Regions from separate parts of the Homo sapiens genome. Here regions 1, 2, 3, 5, 6 and 7 are each linked to region 4. Evidence: promoter capture Hi-C in 16 types of primary human blood cells and fetal thymus (Javierre and others, 2016). All regions are on one chromosome and are shown on one strand. Each heading gives the region's core, a stretch centred on a gene start or on the middle of the fragment in contact. The rest is flanking DNA. Distances are from core to core; before and after follow the strand shown.

Region 1 (2,700 bases), core at 31-2,530, 510 kb before region 4:
TCTCTTATTTGAACAGTTTAATCAAATGTCTTATCTTCCACAGAAATTGATGTTTGTAATTCTTACACACCATCAAGAGAATAACTCATCAATGTGTTGGCTGAGTAATTCAAATTATAATATAATTCACTTATATGTTAACAACTGTTAGATGCCAGGCACTGTTCTAGATGCTTTGCATGCATTGGGGTAAGCTAATGACTCTGAATTTCTTACATGTTGAGTTCGAAGTACCTGCGGATTTCCAGATAAAGATTAATTTGCTATTTTAGCACACACTAATTGTGAACCTAAAATGAGCCAGGCACTATTCTAGGCACTGGAGAAAAAGAGGTAAAAAGAATAAAAAGAGATGGTTCCTGTACTGTAAAAACATACAGTCTAGTAGGAAAGAGAGACCCAAAACTAATTGTAATAACATGGGGTAAGCTACACTATAATAATAAAAATGACAATGGTGATAACAATTATAAATGATGTAATTTATTTAGCACTTACTCTAAGATAGACATTTTATGTGAATGAGTTCATTAAATACTGTTAAAAACTCTGTGACGTCCATATTCATATTTCCAAATGTATAAATGGAGAAACTGAGGCTTAGATAAAATAAGCAACGCCACAAAATCCCTACTGATCAGTAACGGAACTTGGATCCATTTGACCCCAAGGCTTGTGCTCCCTATTGCCATCCTATATTACCCCACCATTCCCACCCCCTTTTGATTTTCCAGAGTTATGAATGCAGTACAATTAAGGTGCAGAGGATCTGGGAGCCAGACGAGTAGGAATAGAAAGGCTTCATAGGAGGGCAAAATCTGAATCAAGCCTTAAAAAAATAACTTGGCATTTGTGTTTGCTAAGCTGTGAAAGATGGGTACAGGTTGCAATGAAATAGTACGGTAAAGATTTGGGATCAAAAAAAAAAAGTCTGCTTCGTTTAAGAAACAGGGATTAGCGCAGATGGAATATAGGGTATGTTGAAAGAAATGAGAGAGATGTGACTAGAGAAACACATCAGAACCATGTCACCATTGTCGCAGAGGACCAGCTGCGTTAAAGACCTGTGATTTTATTTCATAGAGATGATCCATTGGCTCTTTTTTTTTTCTTTCTTTCTTTTTTCTTTTTGAGACGGAGTTTCGCTCTTGTCGCCCAGGCTAGAGTGCAATGGCGCGATCTCGGCTCACTGCAACCTCCGCCTCCCGAGTTCAAGTGATTCTCCTGCCTCAGCCTCCCACGTAGCTGAGATTACAGGCATGAACCACCACCACACCCGGCTAATTTTGTATTTTTAGTAGAGACTGGGTTTCTCCCTGTTGGTTAGGTTGGTCTGGAACTCCAGACCTCAGGTGATCCTCCCGCCTCCTCCTCCCAGAGTGCTGGGATTACAAGCGTGAGCCACCGCGCCTGGCCGAACCATTGGCTCTTTCTAAGCAGTGGAATAACAATGGTTCATAACATTTAGAAGATGGGGTTATACACTCACCAGATCTATTTCCCTAGAGCCTATTTCAGTATCTGATACAGGGTAGATTTTAATAACTGTTGTCAACTAATAAATATATATTTTTAAATACATTGTCAGCAATGTGGAAGATACACTGAAGAAGGAAAAGACTAGTGGCAAGATATAAGCCAGGTGGTAAAATCTAAAAGAAAAGTCAGTGATAGAAAAGAAGTTTGCTGAGAATGATGGTTTCCAGCTTCATCCATGTCCCATGTATACATATGTAACAAACCAGTACATTGTGCACATGTAGCCTAGAACTTAAAGTATAATAAATAAATATGTGTGTGTGTGTATATATATATATACACACACACACACACAAAGAAGTTGATATGGGAGAGACATTTGAGGTAGAATTGACAGGTCTTGGAGACAGCATGACTGTGTGGTCTCAGAGAGAGACACTAGTTGAGAACAACTCCCAAAATTCCTATTTGTGTGTGATCCTCCATGGGGGATACAGAAGGGGGAGTCTAGTCGGGGATTTTGAGTTCCAGTTGCCTTTGGAACATGACTGCACAGATCGCGGCCTGAAAGGAAGTGGCAGAGAAGAAAAATTCAAAATGGCTGCCAATAGTTTGCCCTCTGGAGGCCTCAGAGTTCCGGGGGCCATGGATGCATGGCCACGCAGGGTGAGCAATTGTGATGAGAGAACAGAAAGGAAATCCAAATAAGAGAACTCAAAGCAGAGATGAGCTAAAAATCAGCAACACGAACCATCACAAGTGGGTAGTTACGCTCGGCAGGAGATCCAGGCAAAGCGAGGGCAAACTTCTTAGCCTTTTCCTGTGGAAAATTTATAAAGCTCAGATTGGAGAAAACGTACTGATAGTTTTGAAGCTGGCATTTTAAGTTGGAATGTCTTCTCAAAGTAGCACATAACGGCACAATTCAATAACTCTGACCATTGTGGAAAAATGCCATGTGCCAACAGCGATTTTCCATAATTTTGTTCAGAAAATCTGAAAGAAATGCAAAAAATGGATTTGCAGCCCTGGCAGCAGGCAGAGAAACAGTAGCAGAGGGCTGCAGGCCAGTAATTGATGTTTCAAATATCACTGAGTGCTTTGCCTGTAATTTCAGGGGAGAATGATAATAATTAAAAGCACAAACTTACAAGTCATTTCTGAGGAGGAAAATGCTGAATGCACTTAAAGTGAAGGGGGTTTGTTGAAATGCTTAAGTTT
Region 2 (2,700 bases), core at 116-2,615, 420 kb before region 4:
GTAGGTGCCCAATCCGCTGAAGAATTGATGAATGATGTTTCATTCAATACCTTGAATGCTGGCCTTCTCTGGATAAGGATTGGCTAAATTTTACATCCAGAGGTTAATGAAGCTGTCATTGAGAGTTGAGGTTCTGAGGAAGAAAGACTAAGGTCTGCTGGAAAGACACCTGGACCGTGAGAAGCCCAGGTGTGCAACTCTAGTTCTGAGCCTTAGAACCTTTGAACAAATCACTGAGTCTCAAGGTCCTCATCTTTAAAATATTCATGTTTGCCCTGCATAGTTTCTATTGAAATAATCAAATATGCTAAGGAATGAAAATTGCTGTACAGAAAAATGTCACTATTCCAAATGTAAAATTCTATACTCAGGAAGGGAGCAGTTATTGCCTTTTAGTAGGTGACACTAAAGTTGGTCATGCATTAAGAATCTGGAGTCAGAGCTGAATCTCAGCGACACCATTTACTAGTAGTGTGACCTTAGGTAAATAATGTAACTCTATGACCCACAGTTTCTACCTCTATAAAATGGGGGTAAGAATAGTATAAGCTTCTTGGAGATTAGGACAGAGGTAAAAATAAAGTATTTATCAAAATGCCTAGCACATAGTTACCATCAAAATGGTACTAATCATAATATTAATATTATGTGTACAACTTTTAATTTATGTATATCATGAGTTATGATATTTTAAACATAGCTCTTACTGACTCCCATGAGCCAATTGCATGCATGTCTTTTCAACTTTGTGTTCAGCAGCAATCACATTGGCAGCTTGAAAATGGCTGTAGTAGGAGTTATTTACACTACTACTATAGTTGTGTAGTATAATTGATAAATGCTACAAATCAGAATTGTTGTTTATTGTTGTTTTCATTTTCTTCCAGAGAATCAATTTATCAGTATCAACCAGGCGTGGTGGCTCCTGCCTGTAATCCCAGCGCTTTGGGAGGCCGGGGCAGGTGGATCACTTGAGGTCAGGAGTTTGAGACCAGCCTGGCCAACATGGCAAAACCCCGTCTCTACTAAAAATACAAAAATTAGCCGAGCGTAGTGGCGCATGCCTGTAATCCCAGCTACTTGGGAGGCTGAGGCAAAAGAATCACTGGAACCCAGGAGGCAGAGGTTGCAGCGAGCTGAGGTGGCACCACTGCACTCCAGCCTGGGCGACAGAGAGAGACTCCATCTAAAAAAAAAAAAAAAAAAAATTACCAGTATCCTTTTGGTTATGCATATTGAATGTGTCTTAGTTTAGGTCTCCTAGAAGCATTTCCTAAGCTGAGATTCATATGTAATTGAGCTATTGAAGGAGTGCCCCCAAATAAAACTTGCAAGTGTGTGAGGGAAGCCTTATAGGGCAGAGGAAGAAACCGGGCAAAGGTGAGGGTGCAGCTGAAGTCTAGTCTCAGCCTCATTCCACAGGCAGCTCTGGAGCCTGCGTGGAACCACAGAGTTCCCACCTTGAGGCAAGGGTGCCAAACTTTTCTGCCCTTGTGTTAGTTGGCCATTGGCTACTGACAGACTTCTGGAGAGAATGCAGCTTCCCAGGCCATTCTGGGTGGCACAGCTCCTGATAGCAAGTAATTCTCTGAAGGGTCCAGCTGTGAGTCAAGAACATCTAGCACTGATGAGACATGGATGCACCAGCCCAGCAAAGGGCAGCTGAGCAGGGCACCAACAGCACCTACTACAGTATGGAAACAGATTGTCATACTAGACATTTGAACTAGAATAGATTTGGGAAGTCACCTCTCCTATGTGTGTAATCCAATACAGAAGAGTTGCTTATTCAATCAGCAAATATTTATTTAGTGTAAACTACATTCCTAGTAATGGGATTGGTACTGGAGATGCAGGGCTGAATGCAATCAGATGTGGAGTCCCGGCACTGGAGGAGTTTACATTCCAGCTATGGAGACAGACATTAACCAAATGCTCCCACAAATAAACACACATTTACAACTGTGATGGTTACTGTGAAAGGGACAGGAAACATAGTACTCTTCTGTCAAGACAAGGGTTTGATAGACAGGGAGGCCCCAGAGAGCTTCCCTAAAAAAGTGACATCTGAACTGAGATCTGAAACATGAACTCACTAGGTGTGGGAGTAGGATGAACTAGAAGTGGGAGGAGCTGACAGTAGACAGGTAAGTGAACCTTCCCTTGGACTCATCTCCAGGACAAGCTTGCGTATGGAGATTTGTCCCTGAGGCCCAAGGAGTGGGATGGCTCCTGGAGACCACGGGGGTGGGGAAATGAGGAAGCAAGGAGAGTTATCTTTACTCTTCTGAGAACAGTACTTAGAAGGCAGGCCAACCCTTTTCTATTTCTACTAATATTCTAGAATTCTCTATTTTGAAAACAAGACTATTTTTATCCTCTGTCAGTCCTCTGAGCCCAAGCCAAGCCATCGCATCCCCTGTGACTTCCAGGTATATGACCAGATGGCCTGAAGTAACTAAAGAATCACAAAAGAAGTGAATATGCCCTGCCCCACCTTAACTGATGACATTCCACCACAAAAGAAGTGTAAATGGCCGGTCCTTGCCTTAAGTGATGACATTATCTTGTGAAAGTCCTTTTCCTGGCTCATCCTGGCTCAAAAACACCCCCACTGAGCACCTTGTGACCCCCACTCCTGCCCGCCAGAGAACAAACCCCCTTTGACTGTAATTTTCCTTTACCTACCCAAATCCTATA
Region 3 (2,700 bases), core at 134-2,633, 380 kb before region 4:
GTTGTCAGGATATTTTGGTCTGTCAGTAACCTCTGGGGCTGAAACAGAGGAAGAGAAATCATTGGAATCTTTGAAGCAGAAACAGCAACATCAAATGTTTCCTCTATGTCCTGTGAGTTGGCAAAACTGCAGGTGTAGAACCAAGGTATCCACATGATTATTTCAAATCCCCACATCTTCTTGACTTTTTAACAGAGCCTATTAATTGATACACTGAGATAATTGACACATTAGTAGGAGTCTCCCTGGCCACTTCCAGTGAACTAAGCAAACACATGGAAAGTCTGACCTAGCAGGTCTGTGGTCCACTGGGACTTGGGAGTCCTTCCTATTCCCAGCGTGCTGCTGAGACTATTGGGATTACATTCCCAGTCTTTGGCATTTCCATACATGAACAGATTCTGAATGAAGCCAAAATCAAGTACTAGAGGATTAAGTCCCGGAATTGCAATAATTTTGAATTCCATCCCCTCCATCTATTGACACACGGTTTCCAATAAGTCATACAACCCAGACTGCAGTGTCCAGCTCTTAAAATTTTAAAAACAAACAAAAACAGAAAAGCCTCTGTCTTGCTTTATCCATGGAATTTAACCATCTAGATAGAAGACCAAGTACACAAAGGTGCTTTGAGCATTGTAAAAATGTAACAAAAACATTCCACTTCCTTTTTAATATGCCATGCAATTCTTTCAAGGATATCGGAAAATAGAGGATGTAAAATGAGGAGGGGTAGTTGACATACACAGTCTCAAATGTTGCTTCCTCATCTGTAAAATGGGAGCAAGAGCAGTGCCACTTCATAAGGATGTTTTAAGATCTAGAACATAATGACAGGCATATGATGACGATTTTAAATTTGAGTCGTGTTTGCAAATGAAATCCAGAACATTCCCTGCTGCTCCAGCTGATCTTGGGAGGCATTCCAGTCTCTTTACTGCTCTCCTGAAACAGCGAGGCAAGGTCCTTCCCTGGATTCTGCAGTGTTTTAAAGAGAAATTTCAAACTTTCCCGGGAGGCTTTTCTAAAGGGATTATGTCAACTGAAGGGAATGAACAGGCAAGAAACAAGCAGCCATGCCACTTGACAAGATGAGGGTGGCTTCCTACCTTCAGCTCATTACACGTAGCCTGGGAGCCCCTTCCCAGTTCCCATCACACCTTCCCATCAGGGAGGCCATCTCGAAACCGTGAAATGCTGCTCTCCTCCAAAGGCATCAAGTCTCCTCAAAGTCTGAAACCAAAGTGGAAGGACTAGGAGGCTCCTTGCCAAGCCTCCTAAGATCACATTTTCTGGCTGAGTATGGCCTCCTCCCAGACATTTAACATTGGGCGTGCCTCCCTCTTTCAGGGAAGGTTGGGCCCACCCACAGGGACATAGATTTACCAAAGAGGCATAAATGAACAATGATCAACACTCTGCAGCACAGAACAGAGACACACACAATGGAAGAGTTGGAAAAAAATTGTTTCCCTAGAGAAGCACTCTATCTATGCAAATAGCTAGGACCACTATCCTTCTACCTAGGTATTTTTTATTTTCTCTGCAAGAGACAAAAGTGGCAGAAAATGCCTCCAAAGAAAGAAATCCTAAGCCTCAAGAAAAAAGATAAAAGGGAAGGAAGGGTGTTGGAATACAAAAGCTGGAAAAAGAGGTTGGCTTTTCAATTTGGGAGTAAACTATATTCATGGTCCTTAAGAGAGGATGGCCTGTCAGTGAGAAACAGGAGACTCTGGGAAGACAGAGGCATGGGAGAAAGATCGTTCCAAAATGTGTGAGAATTTCCTCTAACTTCGTTTTCTTCTCTCCCTAGCCAGCCTGCCTCCCGGTATATGCATATATGTATGTATATGTCTGTCTGTCTATGCTAAGGCAAGATGAAGGGAGAAAAGCCCTCCTGCCATGGGACTTTACCAGCGTCCTCGCATAGCATTCATAATAATAACCCCATCACTCATCAAAAGTGCTCTGCAGGCCAGGCCTCGCCGGGCCTGGGCAATGCTCTGATCCCGCAGCCAGCTCAGGCTATAATTGCAAACACCCTGCCCCCGGGAAGTGTCAGGTTATGTGAAGACACTTGGGCTTTGCTGGTGTCTGTAAAATGCAAGTTCAAGGGGACTTTTTAACATCAGAAGCAAAAATATGAGAGTCAAGAGACAGGTCCCTTGTGCCCTGCAGAAGATCACAGTAGAGATAAGAAGTGGGAGGCAATTGCTCTGAAGGTGGGAAAAATAATTTGAAGGCAGCAGAACAGACACAAGGTAATTACCGCTCAGACACAGCACAGGCAAAAAGGCCCTTGCTTTTAGGGAAACAAGAAGTGAACAGACCAAGCCAGGAGGAGAGGCCTGGCTCTTATGAGTTGGGTGAATTGTCAGTGTTTACTTCCTGATAGGAAGGCAGGGAGAGAGAGAAAATGACCCCCCAAAGGCCCTCTCAAACTTAACAAATTTGTGAGCCAAGTTAGGTATGAGTTTTTCTCAACTTTTCGATTCGGTTTTGGAAGGACAGTGTGCATGTGTAAGTGTGCGTGTGTGTGTGTGTGCATGTGTAAGTGTGTGTGGTAAGCTGGAAAGGTCATGAAAACATGAAGGAAAATGGTACAAGAAAGAGATATCAAAAATGCTACCTCCTATCTGATTCTAACTTTATGACATTCTGGAAAAGGTAAAACTATGGAGAGAGTAAAAGCATCAGTAG
Region 4 (2,700 bases), core at 146-2,645:
GGGCCGGGGCAAGGGCGGGGGCCAGGACCGGCCACGACTCACAGAAAGAACTCGGGAGAGGAGGGGCTGTCGCTGGTGGAGCCCGCCTCCCTGAAGCCGGAGTTGGCGAGTTTCTCGCACTTGACCTTGTAGGCGTCTCTCTCGCGGGCCAGCCGGGACACCTCCTGCTTAAGCTGCTCCACCTGCTGAATGAGCTGCGTCTTCTCATTCTCCAGGTGGTGCTTCTGCTGGACGCGTTTATACCTGCAAGACTGGGCGTAGCCCCGGTTCTTCAGGGTCCGCCGCTTCTGCTTCAGGCGGATCACCTCGTCCTTGGTGAAGCCCCGCAGGTGGCGGTTCAGCTCGCGCACGGACATGGACACGAGCTGGTCGTCGGAGAAGCGGTCCTCCACGCTGCCGTTGCCGCCCGCCGCCGTCGCCGAGGCCGTCGCGTGCGGCCCGGGCCCGGGGTGGCTAGTGGGCAGCTGTTGCGCCGGGCTAGCGGCGCTGGACGGCGGCGGCGACGCTTGGTGATGATGGTGATGGTGCGGGTGAGCGTGCGGGCCCAGCTCGTCGTGGGCCACGCCGGCGCCCGGGTACGCGTGGTGCGGGTGAGGGTGGTGGTGATGGTGGTGGTGGTGAGCGCCGCGAAAGCTGTCGAAGCTTTGCAGCGGCTGTGGCACTGGGTGCGAGCCGATGAGCGCTTCCACCGCGTCCTCGGGCGTCAGGTTGAGCGCCTCGGGGTTCATCTGCTGGTAGTTGCTCGCCATCCAGTACAGATCCTCGAGGTGTGTCTTCTGTTCGGTCGGGCTGAAGCTGGGCGACGAGGGCACGGAGCTACACGGAGTGCTGAGCGGTGTGGAGGACACCGAGCCGGCTGGCTGCAGGCGTGTGCAGGGCCTGCCCGGACGCTCCGCGCGCCCCAGTGGCTCCTTCTTCACGTCGAACTTGAGCAGGTCGAAGTCGTTGACATACTCCATGGCCAGCGGGCTGGTGGGCAGCTCTGGCCCCATGCTCAGCTCCGCGGCCATCGCTGAAGCGAGGCGCAGCCGCCGCTGCCGCCCGGGAAACTTTGCGGCCGGCCGGAGCGCGCCGAGCCAAGCGCGGGGGGGAAGAGCGGAGAAGAGCTGGGGAGGCGGGGAGCGAGGGCGCAGCGGGCCGGGGCCGCCGGCCAAGCCTTTGTCTGGGGACGCGGCGGCGCGCCGGAGAGTCCCGAGGCTGCCTGCACCGCCCCAGAGCTCTGGGCTGTGCCCGCGCAGGGACCGGGCCGGGTAGAGTCGGGCGGGGTGGAGAGGCAAGCGGAGCGCGCGGTGGGGCTGAGGGGAGGCGTGGGGCGAGTGCCCGTTGCTCGCTCTCTAGCTCTCTTGCTCTTACGCTCTCTCGCTCGCAGCCGCTCGCAGCTCGGCGGTGCAGCTGTGCTGGATCCGGCGGCGCCGCAGCCTTTTATCGCCTCCTGATGTCACTGGGGTGCGGGGGCCCGGGCGGCCCGGTGCGCGGGCCAATAGCTGCACGGCCTCCGCGGCCCAGCGGCGCAGGGCGGGGCGCGCCTGACAGCTCCCCCGCCCCCCGCGTCAGCTGACTGGCGGCCCGAGCGGCCCCGGAGCGGCGGAGGCCTGGCGGAGCGCTGGAGCGGAGTGGGACGGCCAGCCTGGGCCCACCCCCGTACCCTGCAGGTCCCGGCCCACGCACGCTCGCCTGGAGTGCGCGCCCCACCTCTAGGCCAAATCACCGCTTTCCCCTCCTCGCGCACTCTCCTCCCTCAGTTCCCTTTGCACCCCACCCCCATCCCGTGTCACCCCCAAGGAGGCTCAGAATGAGCGCCGGGACAACGCCTCCTGGGCCCTTTGTTCCCAAGCGGCCCCCGCCCAGTGGGCGACGCTCTGTGTGTCCTCGCGGCTTCTGGCCGTGTGTGTCGTGCGTTCCTGTTTCTGGAGATCTGCGCGTATTTGTATGTTGGGGAGGGCGGGCTCGAGGCTCCGAGAGTTGTGTTCAGACCCAACTCTTAACCTCAGGGGACCTTTCTCAGGCCAAGCGAGGGCCCCTCCTGGCGGGTGCAGTCGCAGAGCCCTGAGGTTCGACTCCACTGGCCCCGCCGCTCCCCGCGTTCACCCCACCGCACAATGTTCACAGTGAAGGCGACGGGAAAAGCAGCAGCCCAAAGGCTCTGAATTCCTCTTCCCCGCCACACGCACGGAATCCTGAGCCCCCGGAGCCTCGGGGCCGAGGCCGGCCCGGGACGGTGCTCCGAGTAGCTCTCCACTGCTGGGGAGCCGGCCCTGTTTTTGTTTGAACGTTTTGTAACGATTAAGCAGATCCCGGCGTCAGCCCGCCGCGGAGAGGCTCAAACAGGCATAAAGTGCGACCCCAAGTGGCCACTGTGCGCAAAGGCGCCGCGACCGCCCGGCCCACGGCCGGAAGGCTTGGACGGCGCCTCGTACCCAGCCAGGTCTCCCCTACCTGGCCCAACCCAAGCCAGCCCAGAACGCATACTATGTGTGCACCAGAGCCCAGGACAGGTTCCCCTCGAGCGATGTACAGGTCCTCGGGTCCCGTCTTCGTACTCAGCCGCGAGCCTCGAGCCGCGAGCTCCGCTCTGGTCGCCCCGTTGAAATTCCGTGCCCCAGCGTTCGGGGGTGCCCGTCGGCTGCTCCCTGGGCCGGAAGGTCCTGGGCGGAGGAAGGCCGGTAGCCAAAAGTGGAAGCGCCACAGTGAAGCGGCCCA
Region 5 (2,700 bases), core at 158-2,657, 370 kb before region 4:
AGTTGGGGGCTGTCTGTTACTGACTAAATAACATTTTAATAAAAGTTTTAAATATTGCTTTTTAAATAAATTGAGAGACCCTTGCACACTAAGTGCAGTGCCAAGGTATACAATTGAGGAGAGAGAATGGGACAAAAAAGAAGCTGCCCTCTGAGGACTTAAAGCCTTCCTTTGTGGGAGACAAAAAACAAAGCCAAAATATAAGTAAATTAAAAGATAATTAATGTCTGTAACATGTCCTTACAAGGACAGAAACCAACAGGCTGAGATGAGAGAAACTGGAGGAAGTCACTTTAGGCAGGACCAGCTTTCAAAAGAGGCTCCATTCATGGAGGCCATCGCATAAGACACATGGATGACATGAGGAATGAAGATGAACCATCTTTCCCGAAAGTCAGGAAAAGAGAATTCCTTCAGGCAGAGGGAATAGCATACACAAAGATCCTGAGTCAGAGAAGAGCTTGGTGGGTTTTTGAGCTGAAAAGAAGTTTCTGTATCAGAGGGAAGCAAATGGCAGGGAGAGCCACGTCTGGTAAACACAAGGAATGAGACAAGGAGTAGGTCACAGAGCTCAGCAGAACAAAATCAGGTGTTTAGACTAGGTGTCAGCAAACGGTGGCTGTTTTTATAAATAGTGCCTATTTTTGTAAATAGTGTTTTATTAGAACACAGCCACACTCATTCATAGGCACATTGTCTATGGCTGCTTTCAAGGTGCCATGTCAGAATTGAATAGTTGCTACAGATACCTCATTGCCCACAAAACCTAAACTATGTTCTATCATGCCCTTTACAAAAAAAAAGAAGTTTGCTGGCCCTTGGTTTAGATTATGCAACAAGAAGTCAGTTTGAAGGGCTTTTAACTGAGGAGAGATGTGATCTGATTAGACACTCAGAACAGTGCCTGGCACACACCAGTTTCTCAAATGTGTTCCTTGAATGAATGAGTGGATGCTTAGATGAATAACGCTTCATTATCCACAACCATATAATATTATCCCCTCTGTTAGCACAAATAATCGGAGGGTTTACAGGACTGAGTGGGAGCCTCCCATCCATCCAGGCAGACTACGTTTTCCACAGTGCTAACAGCTGACGGATACTTAGAAAATTGAATGTTTTATGCAGCTTCAGATTGGAAATAGCAGTGTGGTTTTCACCACAGGGAACCCTCTTAATGTAAATCCAACCCAATTACACACACACAGGCAGGCGCCAAATTTGCAGCAAGACTGAGTTTCGCCCAGCAGCAAATGAAGCACAGCTCCAGAGAGGAAAGAGAGGTCTGTCAGCGAGGGTGTGGGAGCTGCAGAAGGCACCTCAACCCTAAGGGCCACTGCTGTGTGTGACTCATGTGTGGAGGGTGCTGGGTAGCTTAAAGAGCCTGAAAGAAAAAGGATGAAGTGGCTTATGCAAATGTACAGCAAGCTGCATTCTGCAATTGCAAAATCATGAATAGGGGAAATTGCTGGAAAATCAAAAGTAACTTTTGCCCCCAGAGGGTCCTTCCTTTGACCAGTTACAGAGATGACCAAAGCCTTAGAGAAAGAGACTGAGCTTTTAAAATAACAAATAATTGCAATGAGCTTTGTGAGATACGCGCAAGATTAGATATATGAAATAATGAGGTGGAGAGATCAAACACAAGAACTGGTTAAATTAAATATCTGCTTTGGGCCGGGCATGGTGACTCATGCCTGTAATCCTAGCATTTTGGGAGGCTGAGGTGGGAGGATCATAAGGCCAGAAGATCGAGACCATCCTGACCAACATGGTGAAATCCCGTCTCTAGTAAAATACAAAAAATTAGCCAGGCGTGGTGGCATGTGCCTGTAGTCCCAGCTACTCGGGAGGCTGAGGCAGGAGAATCACTTGAACCCAGGAGGCAGAGATTGCAGTGAGCCAAGATTGCACCACTGCACTCCAGCCTGGGCGACACAGCGAGTCTCCATCTCAACTAAAAAAAAAAAAATTCTGCTTTGTGGTCAGGGTCCCATATCACCACCAACCAACCATGTAGCCGCCCTATCGGGGTAATGCCTCTGAGCACTGGAGGGTCCTCCATTTAACACCCCCTCCCACAATATAGACATGGGGGCATTTGCCACCATTTGCTATGTATTCAGAGGTCCCCTGAAGTCCAAAATCAAGGTGTGGGCAGGACAATGCTTTCACTAAAGGTTCTCCAGAAAGATCCTTCCTTGTCTTTTTCTAGCTTCATTTTTTTTTTTAATTTTTTATTTCTAATTTTTGTGGATATTGAGTAGGTATATATATTTATGGGGTGTCTGAGATGTTTTCACACAGGCATGCAATGCGTAATAATCACATCATGAAAAATGGAGTATCCATCACCTCAAACATTTATCCTTTGTGTTACAAACAATTCAATTATACTCTTTTACTTACTTTAAAATGTACAATTAAGTTATTAGTGTCTATAGTTACGCTGTTGTGCTATCAGATATTAGATCTTATTTATTCTAACTGTTTTTGTACCTATTCTTTCCCTAGTTTCTAATAGGGGCAGCAATCCTTGGTATTCCTTGGTTTGCAACCACATCACTCCAACCTCTGTCTCCATTGTCATGCATTCTTCTCCCTGCAGATCTCTGTGTCCAAATCACCTCTTCTTGTAAGGATACCAGTCATTGGATTAGGGTTCACTCTAGTCCAGTATGATGTCCTCTGAACTTGAAT
Region 6 (2,700 bases), core at 57-2,556, 490 kb before region 4:
GCTCAAAGGGTTTCCAAACTTTTGAACACCATGTGTTCATTCAAATGTACTGCTTTGGACTCCTCCTTCACTCTGATTTCAGCCACCTAGATGATTTTTATTATCTCTTTACTCTGCCACCTCCAAGGAAAAATTTTCCTTCTTTGTGTTCAAAGTCATCCAGATGTCAGTACTTTCTCTAATGGACTTTGCCTTCGTCCATCCCCAAGTCTCATACACAAAAAGCCATGTACACATTTGCGTGTACCAGCCTTGGTAGGTATCATCTAGTTGGAAGCAGCTCAGCAGGAAATATCCCCAGGCTTCCCTCAGGCTGCTTTTTTTTTCTCCTTTGGGGGTACCTAATTTCCATTGGTCCTTTGTTTATTGGCCTCTGGGTCATCCACTATTACCAACTTGAATTGAGACAATCTGCTGTGTAAAGGGTCTAATCCTTGTCTTTGCATTTACTCTTTTTTTTCCCCATCTAAGTATTTGAATACATAGGAACAGATGGAACTGTTTTTAGACACAGTTGCAGAATTTTTCCTTGCAGACACGCATCTACACATTCTGGTAAACTAGTTGGGTAACCTGCTTAACCCATTAAAAGCCTCTCTGACAGCCATTTTCCAACTGATCCAGAGCTAAGATGATTATAGTAAGGTCTGTCCCATGTGCACAGAGTTTTCTTACTTTCTCAAACAAAGCATTTTAGTTGAAGCTGTTCCACTGGCTTTTCTAATGCCAGCCCACAGGAAAGTTTCTCCCAACCACTATCCATAAATTCTATGCAACCACACCAGAGATGGCAGCTGCCCATTTCACAGCCACTCAAGCTAAATCTCTCCTTAATTCTTGTCTCCAAATATTGTCCTCAGTTCTTCTGGGGTTGGAGCTAGAAACATCACACATCCCCAAGGCAGCAACAACATTCGTGTTTACTTTAGAATACATTTTGATAAGCACCCAAGTGCTTCAGCGGAAACTGAAGGGTATTTGTGTGAGGTAGCAGATTGTGGGGAGGTTTTATGTCCCAGCACACTCTGGGGAAAATAAAAGAAAATAGCTTTCTTTCCTGGAAGAAAAGAAAAATAAAAAGAAAATAAAAAAGACTAAGAGCCAGTGCAGACACAAAAAGACAAGCTAAGGGAACCCCAACAACACAAATTCTGGAAAGAATGGCACCTCCCCTGTCCCCCACAAAAGGCTCAGACTCCAGAAAAACTGTGCTGATGATGTTGGAAAAGCTTATCGTGTTATTGGGAACTAACTTCCCTTTTTCTGTAGGAGGCAAAACCCAAGAAGTGTAAACGCAAAAAGTTTCTGCGCTTCTGAGTGGAGAAAGTTCCCCAAAATGAGTGTGAAAAGACTAGGAACAACTGAAAATTCCAGCCCACAGTTTCAAGCTTTCCAAAGCCTGTTTGCTTTGGCCAGCCTTTGCCATTCCTTTCTCTCTTTTTTCAGAAGTGTGAAATGGGTTGGTTGCTGGTATTTGTTCTGTGGTCTCTGCTAACTCTTCCATCTGTATAAACTTAGCTCTGCCAATCCAGCAGTTTAGCAGCACTTTCTCTTCAGCTAGCTCAAAAGGACACGAAGGTCCTATTAAGTGGCCCTTTCAAGACTTGCAAATAACTGTACCATGCTGTCTGATTGAAGGCATGAAGCTTATTTATGCTGTCCTTGCAAGGGCTGGCCTTCCTTTTAAGACTTGTAGCTAAACAGGATGAAGGCAAAGTTAATCCAAGTCTGGATTTGACCATTCCTCCCCAGTGTCAGGGAAGCAGCCGAGGTGGCTATAATATGCCTATAAGCCTGAGAAACTAGGCCCGGCACAGTGGCTCATGCCTGTAATCCCAGCACTTTGGGAGGCCTAGGCGGGTAGATCACTTGAGGTCAGGAGTTCGAGACCAGTCTGGCCAACATGGCGAAACCCCATCTAATACAAAAATTAGCTGGCCATGGTAGCGCACCTGTAATCCCAGTTACTCTGGAGGCTGAGGCATGAGAATCGCTTGAACCCGGGAGGTGGAGGTTGCAGTGAGCCAAGATTTCACCACTGCATTCCAGCCTAGGCGACAAAGTGAGTCTTTGTCAAAAACAAAAACAAAAACAAAAAAACAAAACAAAAACAAACAAACAAAATCTTAGAAACTTGAAGATAGGGCATGGTACTTAGTGGTGATGTCTTCCTCTTTTTCATGAACATATTTATTTGAGGATGAAGAGAGCCATGGGAGAATCTACATTCCCATGTTTTCCCACTTTCCTTCTATATTTATCTGTATTTGGGTTGACCCTCTTCAGCAAGCTACTGTCCTTCAAGAAGCAATAGGCTAACAGGGTGCCCACATGCTTTTATCTATTCTCAATGGAACAACCTAGACTATTTAATTAACTGTTTTTCACTAGTTGCTCTTACAAAGCAAAATATTGTCAAATATGAAAATTTGCCTTGGGTCAGAGACCGAATATGAGTAGAGCTGACGGTTTTTGCCAAGTCCAACAAGTATCTCTGTGAAGTGTAAACAGCTATTAATGAAGAGAGTAGCCACGGTTAAATAAACCAGGGGGTGGAGAACACATGGGCCAAGAGAAGAGCTATTTGTTGCACATTTCCTCTGTCTAAGGATGAATCCAGCCTAGTTGGGTCCTCAGTGGAAGGTAACAGAAATTTTAAAATGGACCAGAATAAATAGCCACAAAGAAGAAATGGTGCCC
Region 7 (2,700 bases), core at 27-2,526, 450 kb before region 4:
TCCTCCTTCTTCACCATGACCTTGTGAGTTAGGAGATCAGTTTTCAACTTTCTAGCTGGAAAGGTTGAGGCTGTGAATTGTCAATGACTTGCCAGAAGGCACACAGTAAACAGTGCCCTTGGGACCTCTGTTTAGAGGAAGAGCTTCACATTTAGCTTGCTTTCTATTGTGACTCACTCTGTTCAACTAAGTTATGAACAAGCCTCGATGCACAAGGATGAAAGAAATCAGATTTGAGAAAGCCCAGTCTTCACCCATGGACAGCTGAGAAAGGCATGAGACAGGAATATTATAATTCATCTATAAGAAAGTGCTCATCTAAAGAAGAAAATGCTAGCCAGACTTCCTCTGAGACACAGCCAGGTAAGCAGGAAAACGTCATTGTCTTTAGAAACAGAGGAGAGCTTACAGTCTCTTAATATTTTTAATAACCTTTATATTTATACATTTATATATTGTAAACTTATATTTATAAGTTATAAATTAATATTTGTTATGAATTTATATCTATATATTATACATTTATAAATATATATTTTTTGATTTACATTCATTTATATTATCTTCACTACAGTAACTACATTCATTAAATATAAACTTTGACATCCTATCAGCCCTCAGAGGTCTGCTTGGAGTATTGGAGAAGACACTAGGTATTTTGTCTGCTTTTTAATCAGTGAATGGTCTCCAAATTAATATCTATGTATATGTATATATTTATATTAAATAAGAGTCATTTGGGGGATGGGCATCCTATGCATAATATTTGAGGATCTTCATCTCTTTTTCCTTCAAAGAATCTTCAGCAAATGTGCAAAAACAGATTGAGCAACCCATGATCCTGTAGGTTTCCAGTTTTGTCTTCACTCTCTGAACAGGGAAGGAAAAGACTTGAGGCAAGTCTCTAGATTTCAATCATCCAGGAAGCAATTCTGGGTGATAATAAGAGAGACTGGCAAAAAAGGGGGAAAGAGGGGAAATTACTGGCTTGGTCAAAGCTTGCAAAATGGCACCAGTGATTAAAACATCTTATGCTGTCCTCGGGCTGCAGAAGCTATCACTGACAAAAGAGCTCATACACACACACACAAAAGGAAAGAAATTAGCCATTAAGAAATATTTCAGCATAATGCAATTATTACAGCTGTATAATTGAATGGGGAAACCATTGATCTGTAGTAGAAAGGAAATTGCTCTTCTCATTGTGTTCCTATGAATATGTGAACATTAATCTCCATCTATAATCAACGTTCATTTCAAATCTGATTGCATGCTACTAAACACCCGTAGCTATGCTAACATTATGTTAATATGGTTCAACATCATAGCTCCCAGCTTCACAGCACAAATATTTTTCTTTGGCAATCAATAGTAATTTCAGCTGAGTGGATGGAAGTCACGTTTTAATGGTAATCTTTCCTCCAAGCCTCCAAGTGGAAACTCAGTTGGTGTCTTAACATGGCTGCAGCATGTTGCATATAATCAGATAAATTAACCTGAAAAGAAATAGAGAGAGAGGAAGGAAGGGAGGGGACATGGATCAGAAATAAGGAGGAAGCTTAGCAAAACTCTAGCTAATAGATGAAAGTGTACATTAGGTAGAAAAAGAGTGAGGATGAATGGGTAGATGGGACAGAGTGAATGTGTGTCGGAGGGGCATGCAGGAAGGGTTGTTAAGAAATGAGACTGTGTTCCTTCTGGCTATAAGTCAATGGGATGGGATGGAGCAGCCAGGATCCTGGGCAATTTGGATTTTGCCAAAGCAACCAAGATACATGAGGAAGGAATAGGAAACTTAACAAACATGGGTGGATGGCATACCGAGTCATCTCTGCTTGGAAGAGTTCACTCAGATATCTCCTCCTTCTCATATCCACACGTTCATTTACAGCAAACAATAGAAAATATAGAAAATTTTATAGATTTCTATATCTATAAAACATACAGATAATTTTGAAAGTGAAAAAAATTTATAAGGGAGAATCTTTTATTTTTAAGCATGGCTACTGCTGGACACCAAGAATATGAAGATGAACGAATGTCATCTCTGATCACTAAGAGTTGATGACCCAGAGTGGGAGAAGAAAGATAAACAACTCACAGTATCAACCCACATCTCCTGGGATCCTCCTCCTTCCCCTGGCCATAATAATCCTCTCCCTTCATATTTTTTTAAAAGAAGAGAGAGAAGAGGGAGAAGCATTTTGGTTACATTCATTCCTCAAGCACTTTTTTCAGCCCCAGAAACCTAAATGATGGAAATTCTCAGACACAATCATTGGCTCCATTCCCACATCCAAGGACAATGCCCTCCACAACCCCCGTTTTTTTACATACCTTGTCTAAGACTGAAATCAGAGGCTCCTTCTGTGATAAGAATCAAAGTTACAACCTTTATGTATGCAGGTTGTTTATAATAAGGCAAAGGAAAATAAAACCTAAGTATTCTCAGCCTCTTCACCTGCTCTTTCAAAGAAATCTGGAGTTGTCACTTCCCTTCACAGCTCCCCCAGCCCCTGGCGCTCTCCTTCCTGGCTCCTGTTTTGAAGATCAGGGGAAGAGAACATTCTCCTAAGGACAGCAGGGTATCCATTGATATAAGAAGGGAAATCCAGAGGTGAGGGGACAGTGAACCAATGATACAGCACAAGGAGGACCCTGCAGGACAAAAGACCATTAGTATTAAGTGTTTCCTTGTTT

The links. The method cuts DNA at HindIII sites, captures the fragments that hold promoters and counts their contacts. A CHiCAGO score of 5 or more calls a contact.
Region 1: a contact is called between a fragment that was not itself captured here and the fragment with the promoter of MAFB in region 4, in 1 of 17 cell types (monocytes). The highest score is 6.7, in monocytes.
Region 2: a fragment that was not itself captured here is called in contact with the fragment with the promoter of MAFB in region 4 in 4 of 17 cell types (monocytes, M0 macrophages, neutrophils and 1 more); the score reaches 11.6 in monocytes.
Region 3: a fragment that was not itself captured here is called in contact with the fragment with the promoter of MAFB in region 4 in 1 of 17 cell types (monocytes); the score reaches 6.9 in monocytes.
Region 5: a contact is called between a fragment that was not itself captured here and the fragment with the promoter of MAFB in region 4, in 2 of 17 cell types (monocytes and M2 macrophages). The highest score is 7.9, in monocytes.
Region 6: a fragment that was not itself captured here is called in contact with the fragment with the promoter of MAFB in region 4 in 1 of 17 cell types (monocytes); the score reaches 6.4 in monocytes.
Region 7: a contact is called between a fragment that was not itself captured here and the fragment with the promoter of MAFB in region 4, in 1 of 17 cell types (monocytes). The highest score is 5.2, in monocytes.

What each region holds. Positions count from the first base shown.
Region 1 is chr20:40,179,386-40,182,085 of GRCh38, forward strand. No RefSeq gene overlaps it. Among named protein-coding and RNA genes, the nearest start is that of LINC01370, 180 kb to the left of the region's middle. The HindIII fragment of the contact is 8,234 bases long and covers 1-2,700 here.
Region 2 is chr20:40,266,673-40,269,372 of GRCh38, forward strand. No RefSeq gene overlaps it. Among named protein-coding and RNA genes, the nearest start is that of LINC01370, 260 kb to the left of the region's middle. RefSeq lists enhancers at 2,145-2,676, 2,677-2,700. The HindIII fragment of the contact is 1,636 bases long and covers 548-2,183 here.
Region 3 is chr20:40,306,123-40,308,822 of GRCh38, forward strand. LOC105372617 (a long non-coding RNA gene) reads right to left here. Exons shown (of 4, transcript XR_001754593.2): 2 at 1-38. Among named protein-coding and RNA genes, the nearest start is that of LINC01370, 300 kb to the left of the region's middle. The HindIII fragment of the contact is 7,580 bases long and covers 1-2,700 here.
Region 4 is chr20:40,687,841-40,690,540 of GRCh38, forward strand. It overlaps MAFB (MAF bZIP transcription factor B), which reads right to left and starts at 1,396. Exons shown (of 1, transcript NM_005461.5): 1 at 1-1,396. The coding sequence starts at 1,010. The coding sequence ends at 39. RefSeq lists silencers at 1,259-1,328, 1,349-1,658 and enhancers at 1,609-2,586, 2,587-2,700. The HindIII fragment of the contact is 7,144 bases long and covers 641-2,700 here.
Region 5 is chr20:40,322,323-40,325,022 of GRCh38, forward strand. No RefSeq gene overlaps it. Among named protein-coding and RNA genes, the nearest start is that of LINC01370, 320 kb to the left of the region's middle. The HindIII fragment of the contact is 8,564 bases long and covers 1-2,700 here.
Region 6 is chr20:40,196,491-40,199,190 of GRCh38, forward strand. No RefSeq gene overlaps it. Among named protein-coding and RNA genes, the nearest start is that of LINC01370, 190 kb to the left of the region's middle. The HindIII fragment of the contact is 159 bases long and covers 1,228-1,386 here.
Region 7 is chr20:40,233,491-40,236,190 of GRCh38, forward strand. No RefSeq gene overlaps it. Among named protein-coding and RNA genes, the nearest start is that of LINC01370, 230 kb to the left of the region's middle. The HindIII fragment of the contact is 560 bases long and covers 997-1,556 here.